2 separate regions of the Homo sapiens genome follow, and region 2 is linked to region 1. The links are contacts of gene promoters, found by promoter capture Hi-C in human tissues and cell types (Jung and others, 2019). All regions are on one chromosome and are shown on one strand. The core of a region is centred on a gene start or on the middle of the fragment in contact, and the rest is flanking DNA. Distances in the headings are between cores, read along the strand shown.

The links. The method cuts DNA at HindIII sites, captures the fragments that hold promoters and counts their contacts. A contact is called where the count stands out against the background at its distance.
Region 2: a contact is called between the fragment with the promoter of COL6A1 here and the fragment with the promoter of KRTAP10-3 in region 1, in 1 of the 25 tissues and cell types used here (dorsolateral prefrontal cortex).

Annotation. Positions count from the first base shown.
Region 1 is chr21:44,556,838-44,560,408 of GRCh38, reverse strand. KRTAP10-3 (keratin associated protein 10-3) reads left to right here and starts at 1,614. Exons shown (of 1, transcript NM_198696.3): 1 at 1,614-2,619. The coding sequence starts at 1,694. The coding sequence ends at 2,359. The region is part of intron 2 of TSPEAR (thrombospondin type laminin G domain and EAR repeats); the gene reads left to right. The HindIII fragment of the contact is 7,690 bases long and covers 1-3,571 here.
Region 2 is chr21:45,979,850-45,983,420 of GRCh38, reverse strand. It overlaps COL6A1 (collagen type VI alpha 1 chain), which reads right to left and starts at 1,651. Exons shown (of 35, transcript NM_001848.3): 1 at 1,474-1,651; 2 at 658-787. The coding sequence starts at 1,570. LOC105372841 (a long non-coding RNA gene) reads right to left here. Exons shown (of 3, transcript XR_937803.3): 2 at 3,569-3,571; 3 at 1,855-2,131. RefSeq lists enhancers at 170-1,030, 1,031-1,893. The HindIII fragment of the contact is 42,283 bases long and covers 1-3,571 here.

The sequences.
Region 1 (3,571 bases), core at 365-2,864:
TGACAGCAGGGTGTTAAAGTTTCCCACTATTATTGTGTGGGAGTCTAAGTCTCTTTGTAGGTCTCTAAGAGCTTGTTTTATGAAACTGGGTGCTTTTATATTTGGTGCATATATATTTAGGATAATTAGCTCTTCTCATTGAATTGATCCCTTTATCATTATGTAATGCCCTTCTTTGTCTTTTTTGATCTTTGTTGGCTTAAAGTCTGTTTTATCAGAGACTAGGATTGCAACCCCTGCTTACGTTGCTTTCCATTTGCTTGGTACATTTTCCTCCATTCCTTTATTTTGAGCCTATGTGTGTCTTTGCAAGTGAGATGGGTCTCCTGAATACAGCACACTGACGGGTCATGACTCTTCATCCAATTTGCCAGTCTGTGTCCAGCTATTATTTCTATGAAATAATATTTTTCCACTGTAGTCTGACTTTGCCAGGTAGTCCTCCAACAGAGCCCTTAGCCATACTCATCAAAGGTCAGAGGCTTCAAACCCTGCAGCCTATGGGCCCCCACCAAGCACTCAGTGGACCCCTGGCCTAATTTTGGAAAGCCCTGCAGCCTAGAGCATCATCAGAGCCTCTGCCTTTGCCATTTCAAAGATTTAGTAGAAAATAGCGATCATAGAGTGAGGAGATGAGGGATCCATGATCAGAACTTTGGGGGCTTACTAGCGCACAGGTATGGTCCCGGGCACAGGCATGGGCTGATACACACAGGTGTATAGGTATTTGTGAGACAAGGCTCTGCAATCAGACCCTTTTATTTGTACATTTACTATGACAATGTCCAGGAGCCAACAGTAGAACTAATACATTCTGATGACTTTCTGGCCCATAAGGGAAGAGACCTTGGAGCTCCCAAGGACACCATTGCAGGTGATGTTGCCCGAGATGTGAGAGGAGAAGGTGTGAACACTATTGTGCACACCACCGGGGGAAGGCCCCATAACAGTTCAACGTGAAATGAAACAAAGGTGCTTGCCCCTCATCTCCATCCCTACTGTGCTGGGCCTGCAGCTGCCTCCCTGCTCCCCTCTGCGAGCCAATCTCTGCCCAGGAAGACACTATTCCCTCACACCTGCCCCAGGGCTCACCCCCAGCAGAAATATGCCCCATGGTTCCCACTGACAACCAGCAGTGTCAACCCACAGGGTGGATCTCGCCGTGTGGCCAGGCCAACTGAGCATCTTCAAACTTGTCCACAGCAGAACACATCTCTCCCTTTCCTCAAGGCCCAGAAACTGAGGTTCTCCTAACCTCATCCCTCCTTAGGTGTAGAAGTCTTTTTTTAAGTGCAAACTCCTCCTGGGATGGAGCAGAGGGCTGTCAATTCCAGAATATCTCCTAACTGCCACTGTCCCTGCTTCTGCAGTGTGCTTTGATGCAATCAATATATTTCTACTAGTTTATCTCTGTGGACAAGCCCACATTAGGGAAGCCCTAACTCCAGTCAGGAGCCTCACAAACCAGAACATCCACAAACAATGAACCAACACTACTAACACAACAGTGCCTACAACAACAACAAGGAAGAGGAAGGCTTCTCGAAGCCAGGCAGGGGCAGCACAATCAACACAGAGGGGTATAAAGGTTCCGACCACTCAGAGGCCTGGCACGATCACTCACTCACTCCCTCACTCACTCCCACACTCACTCACTCACGTCTCCCCCAGCTCACCTCCTCCCCACCCCAGCATGGCCACGTCTACCATGTCCGTCTGCTCCAGCGCTTACTCTGACTCCTGGCAGGTGGACGCCTGCCCAGAGAGCTGCTGTGAGCCCCCCTGCTGCGCCACCAGCTGCTGCGCCCCGGCCCCCTGCCTGACCCTGGTCTGCACCCCAGTGAGCTGTGTGTCCAGCCCCTGCTGCCAGGCGGCCTGTGAGCCCAGCCCCTGCCAGTCAGGCTGCACCAGCTCCTGCACGCCCTCGTGCTGCCAGCAGTCTAGCTGCCAGCCAGCTTGCTGCACATCCTCCCCCTGCCAGCAGGCCTGCTGCGTGCCTGTCTGCTGCAAGCCAGTCTGCTGTGTGCCCGTCTGCTGCAAGCCTGTCTGCTGCAAGCCCATCTGCTGTGTGCCCGTCTGCTCTGGGGCTTCCTCTTCATGCTGCCAGCAGTCTAGCCGCCAGCCGGCTTGCTGCACCACCTCCTGCTGCAGACCCTCCTCCTCCGTGTCCCTCCTCTGCCGCCCCGTGTGCAGGTCCACCTGCTGTGTGCCCATCCCCTCCTGCTGTGCCCCTGCCTCCACCTGCCAGCCCAGCTGCTGCCGCCCGGCCTCCTGCGTGTCCCTCCTCTGCCGCCCCACGTGCTCCCGCCTCTCTTCCGCGTGCTGCGGCCTCTCCTCAGGCCAGAAGTCCAGCTGCTGACGGGCAGGTCCCGTTTCTCCAGAGTTGTTCCAGGGCCATCTCTGACTTCCGAAAATCCTTGCAGCCCTGAGCCCTGTCTGAGTCTCCTCTGCCCATAGCCACTGCACCTCCAGCCAGCAATGCTGAGCTTTCATGCCGATTCCCTCCAGGCATGCATCTCTCCCACACCCTCATCTCCATGCTGGCCAGCCGGTGGTCACTGTGTCCTGCCCCATGTGAGTGATCAGTCTGTCAACAAATAAAGTCACCAATGTGCCCTCTCAGAGGTCTTTTTTGCATATCTGGCAAACCCTGTGGGAAGAACTTCAACGTGCCGCGTGGGGTGGGAGCTTCGGGACTCTGGCCTTGAGCTGCATCCAGGCTGACAGCACCAGGGGCGGAGGCAGTCCTGACTTCCCGCTGTGCGGGGTCTGCTGTTGTGGGGTTCTCCTGCCAGCCTCAGCGTCTCCAGGCCCCGGGGGTGCTTCTCTGTGAATCCCCCACACCCACCCGGCCCGGCCTCTCCCTGGGCTCAGCTCCTCCCCCTCTCTCCTTCCTCTGCCTGTCTGACCCCCACTCATCATCTTCTCACCAGCCCTCTCTTATTAAATAAAATAAATATTTCTCATTCCTGGAAGACATTTTAGAGCTGATCTCTTATTTCAAATATCTGTGCACGGTCATCCCAATGCCTGAAGTCTCTGTGGGTCCATTTCAGCTTTCTGTCATTTCCACCAGTTCTCGCTCATGGTGTCGTTTCCTTGTGTGCTTCACTGTTTGCAGCTGAGTAACCACCTTTGTCCTTGGAAAGTATTTGTGGGCATTTTTGAGGCCTCTAAGACAGGTGTGTTTTCTTTTGCCTTATGTGAGGAACCCTCTCATGTAGCCGACAAAACCTATGGCAGCACCTGCAGCTTTGTCACCAACAGGAATGAGATGCGTGGCGTCACATTATGCCGGCCGCAAATGCTCAAAACCTCATTCTGGCCACTGCTGTTTCATAATTATGGTAGCGCGAGATGCACCTGCTGGGTCCCACCAGGCACATGCTCCCTAGGGAAGTACATGCTATCTCACCAGTTCACTTTTTCATAGTGTAACAGCAGTGTTTTCATGAAGTTGGTTTCCTTTTACTTATCTGAAAACCTCCAAAGCTTTCACGAGGTGGCCGGGAAGTTCCCTTGTGCAAAAAGGGCAAAGACCCCTGTCTTTGATTTGGGCCTGTAATCCTGT
Region 2 (3,571 bases), core at 402-2,901, 1.4 Mb before region 1:
GAGCCCCGTTCTACATGCCCCCCCCTCAGCGGCCCTGTGCACCCACAGGACCGACTCCCCTCTCCCCCCGGTCTGTCCTCAGCCACACGCACAGATGGAGGAACGTGGAGCAGAGGGTGCCGTGTCCCAAGCCCAGAACCAAGCCTGGGGGCCCTGGGGCTGCAGAGCGACACCCCTCCTGGCTCCCGAGTCGGGGACCTTCAGAACGTGGGATCCAGGACCCAGGTAGAGGCTCTCACTGCCCACGGAACAAACCAGGGTCCAGGTGGTTAGTGAGGGGCTCCCGCGCACCAGGCAGGACTGCGTGTCTGGGCCAGTGCGCTGAGCCCTCTCGGTCAGCCTGCGGGAGCCTCTCTTCCCTACATCTCAGCCTCACTGTCACCTCGGCCCTGCTGAACAGGTGCCACCCCCGCGAGCAGGGTCTCAAACCAGCTCACTCTGGAAGGCGCTGGGAGAGGCTCAGACCAGCTCACTCTGGAGGGCGCCGGAAAGGGCCCCGGCCTCACTCTGGAGGGCGCCGGGAGGGGCCCCGGTCAGGGCAACGCTCGCCCAACCTTAGGAGGTTGAGGCCGTCGCACCCGTGTTCCCCTGGGCCCCCACCCCTCCCTCCAAGAGGCCCAGAAGCACAGGAGGAAGGTCACGGGGCGTCCCTCCTACCTGTCCCTCAGGTTGTCGATGAAGCGCTTGGTGAAGGACTTGACTTTGTCCACGAGGGCCCCGTAGGGCTTCAGCCTCAGGGCCACGCTCTCAGAGGTGTCCAGCACAAAGAACAGGTCCACGGGGCAGTCTGGCCGAAGATGGAGGAGAGGGGCCTTCAAGCTCTCGCCCCATTCCCCGAGTCTCTGCTGGGCCTGCCCTCCCGGCCAGCCCAGCGCCTGCAGCACAGAGCCCCGGGCCCGGAGAGGCTCTCCCGGGAAAAGGCAGCAGGACGTCCCTCGGTGGGGACGGTGGGGAGGGGGTGGAGTGAGAGACCCCAAACCGCTCCTGTGCCTCGAGGGGAGTCAGAAACCTTCACAACCTCCCCCGAAGGGCAGGGCGTCCCCGGCACGGGACCGGACAAGTGAGACCTCACGGGAAGGTTTCTCGCTGGATTCAGAACCAGCAGCGCACGACTTCTTCTAGAACGGGGGTCGGGGGGGCCGTGCGTCTGGACTCACTGCCAGGTGAGGGGTCAAACGGATTCACGGGGCGCCGAGACAGCCCCGCACCAGCTCCCCCTCGCCAGGGAGCCCCTCCCGAGCTGCCTGCGGTCCGGCCCCGCTGAGAATGCTGAATGCTGAGCCTCTAGGGGCCCCGGCCAAGGCCCGGTGGGGCAGAGCTGGGCGCTGCAGCCGCCCCGAGCGGGGAGTGGGGTTCAGGGGCTCCAGGCCCCCAGTCTGCAGTTCCACGCGTGGGAGGGGACCCCGCGCATCTGGCCCTGGCCGGCAGCAAAGAGCGGGGGGTCTGGAGCCTGCACCCCAAGCCACCACTCACCCTGGAAGGCCACGGCCCTCGGGGTCTCCGGCTCATCCTGCGCGGCTGTCCAGCAGGCCTGCAGCAGCAGGGGCAGCAGAGCACGGGCCGCCCTCATGTCTGGGGCCTGCGGTCACCACACAGCGCGGCCAGGGCAGAGTGGGCCGCCGCCGCCGCCCAGAGACCGAGGCTGCCTTCTGCTCCCAGCCAGAGTGAGAGCGGAGGGCAAGGAGGGGAGGGGCGGGGCGAGAGGGGCGGGAGGGGAGGGGAGGGGCGGGAGGGGAGGGGAGGGGCGGGGCGGGAGGAGAGGGGAGGGGAGGGGAGGGGCGGGAGGAGAGGGGAGGGGCGGGAGGGGAGGGGCGGGGCGGGAGGGGAGGGGCGGGGCGGGGCGGGGAGGAGCGGCCCATGAGTCACCACCTCCTTGCTGGGGTCTCTCCCTCCAGAACCGGCAGCAGCTCCGAGCCCAGGGAGAAGGCGGTTTCCCTGGCTGGCTCGCCGCGGCCTGCAGTTCAGTTCCCGTGTCAGGGAGGAGGAAACTGCAGCAGCTGAATCAAACGTCTGAAAACCAGCGTGTCACCCAGGGAGAGTTCCTTGAAACATCTTTCGGTAGTTTCCAATCCAGACGTCTCCATGCGGGACGCACGGGCAGGCTCACTCGCCTCTTCCCACCAACCGCCTCCTGCAGAGGACCTCGCCGTGAGCTGAATTGTTGCTTTATCAGATCTCCGCGTTCTTTTTTCACGTCAATATTTCTTCACAGTATAGTCGGATACGTATTTGCCAAAGATATTTCAGTTTGTACCGTGGGAAGACAAAGTTGCTCACAATATAGTTGTTATATATGCTGTGTGTGGAGACAGAGAGACAGAGACAGAGAGACAGAGAGAGACAGTGAGAGAGAGACAGAGAGACAGAGACAGAGAGACAGACAGAGACACAGACAGAGGAGAGACAGAGACAGAGAGAGAGACAGAGACAGAGAGAGACAGAGAGACAGAAAGACAGAGAGAGACACAGAGAGACAGAGGAGAGACAGAGACAGAGAGACAGAGACAGAGAGACACAGAGAGACAGAGAGACAGAGAGACAGAGACAGAGAGAGAGACAGTGAGAGACAGAGACAGAGAGACACAGAGACAGAGAGACAGAGAGAGACAGAGACAGTGAGAGAGAGACAGAAAGACAGAGACAGAGAGACAGACACAGAGAGACAGAGGAGAGACAGAGACAGACAGAGAGAGACAGAGACAGAGAGAGACAGAGAGACAGACAGAGAGAGACAGAGAGAGAGACAGAGACAGAGACACAGAGAGAGGAGAGACAGAGAGAGACAAAGACAGAGACAGAGAGACAGAGACAGAGAGAGACAGAGAGGAGAGACAGACAGAGACGGAGAGACAGAGACAGAGAGACAGAGACAGAGAGACAGAAAGAGAGACAGAGAGAGGAGAGAGGGGCTGTCCCTGATATCACCTGGGGGTGGGCTCCAGATGTGGCCAGATGCATCCCTGGCCCACAGAAGGTCCCAGAAGAGCTTTCCCAAAGCTGGAGCTGCTGAGACTTGCCTAACACCAGCCTAAATGTCTTATAATTTTAAAACGTACACAAATTGTTCATACCAAAAACCATGTTAAAGAAACATTTGAAAAAACCTTTAAAATTGATACTTAATTCCACAACTCCACAGTGACTGTTTTTGGATTGCCTTCAATATTTTCCCCACACCTACGTTACAGAAGTTGTAAAGTACTTCTCCTTCTTTTCCTCCTCCTCCTCCTCCTCCTCCTCCTTATTATTATTATTATTATCTAAGGGGCTCACTCTGTCATCCAGGCTGGAACGTAGTGGCCTCATCACAGCTCACTGCAGCCTCAGTCTCCTGGGTTCAGGTGATCCCTCCACCTCAGCCTCCCGAGTAGCTGGGATCACAGGCATGTGCCACCATACCCAGCTAATTTTGTATGTTTTGTAGAGATGGGGGTCTCACGATGTTGCCCAGGCTGGTCTCGAACTCCTGGACTCAAGTGGTCCTCCTGCCTCGGCCTCCGAAAGTGCTGGGATTACAGGCATGAGCCACCGTGCCTGGCCTTGTACACTTACTGTACAGTCAATTTACCTG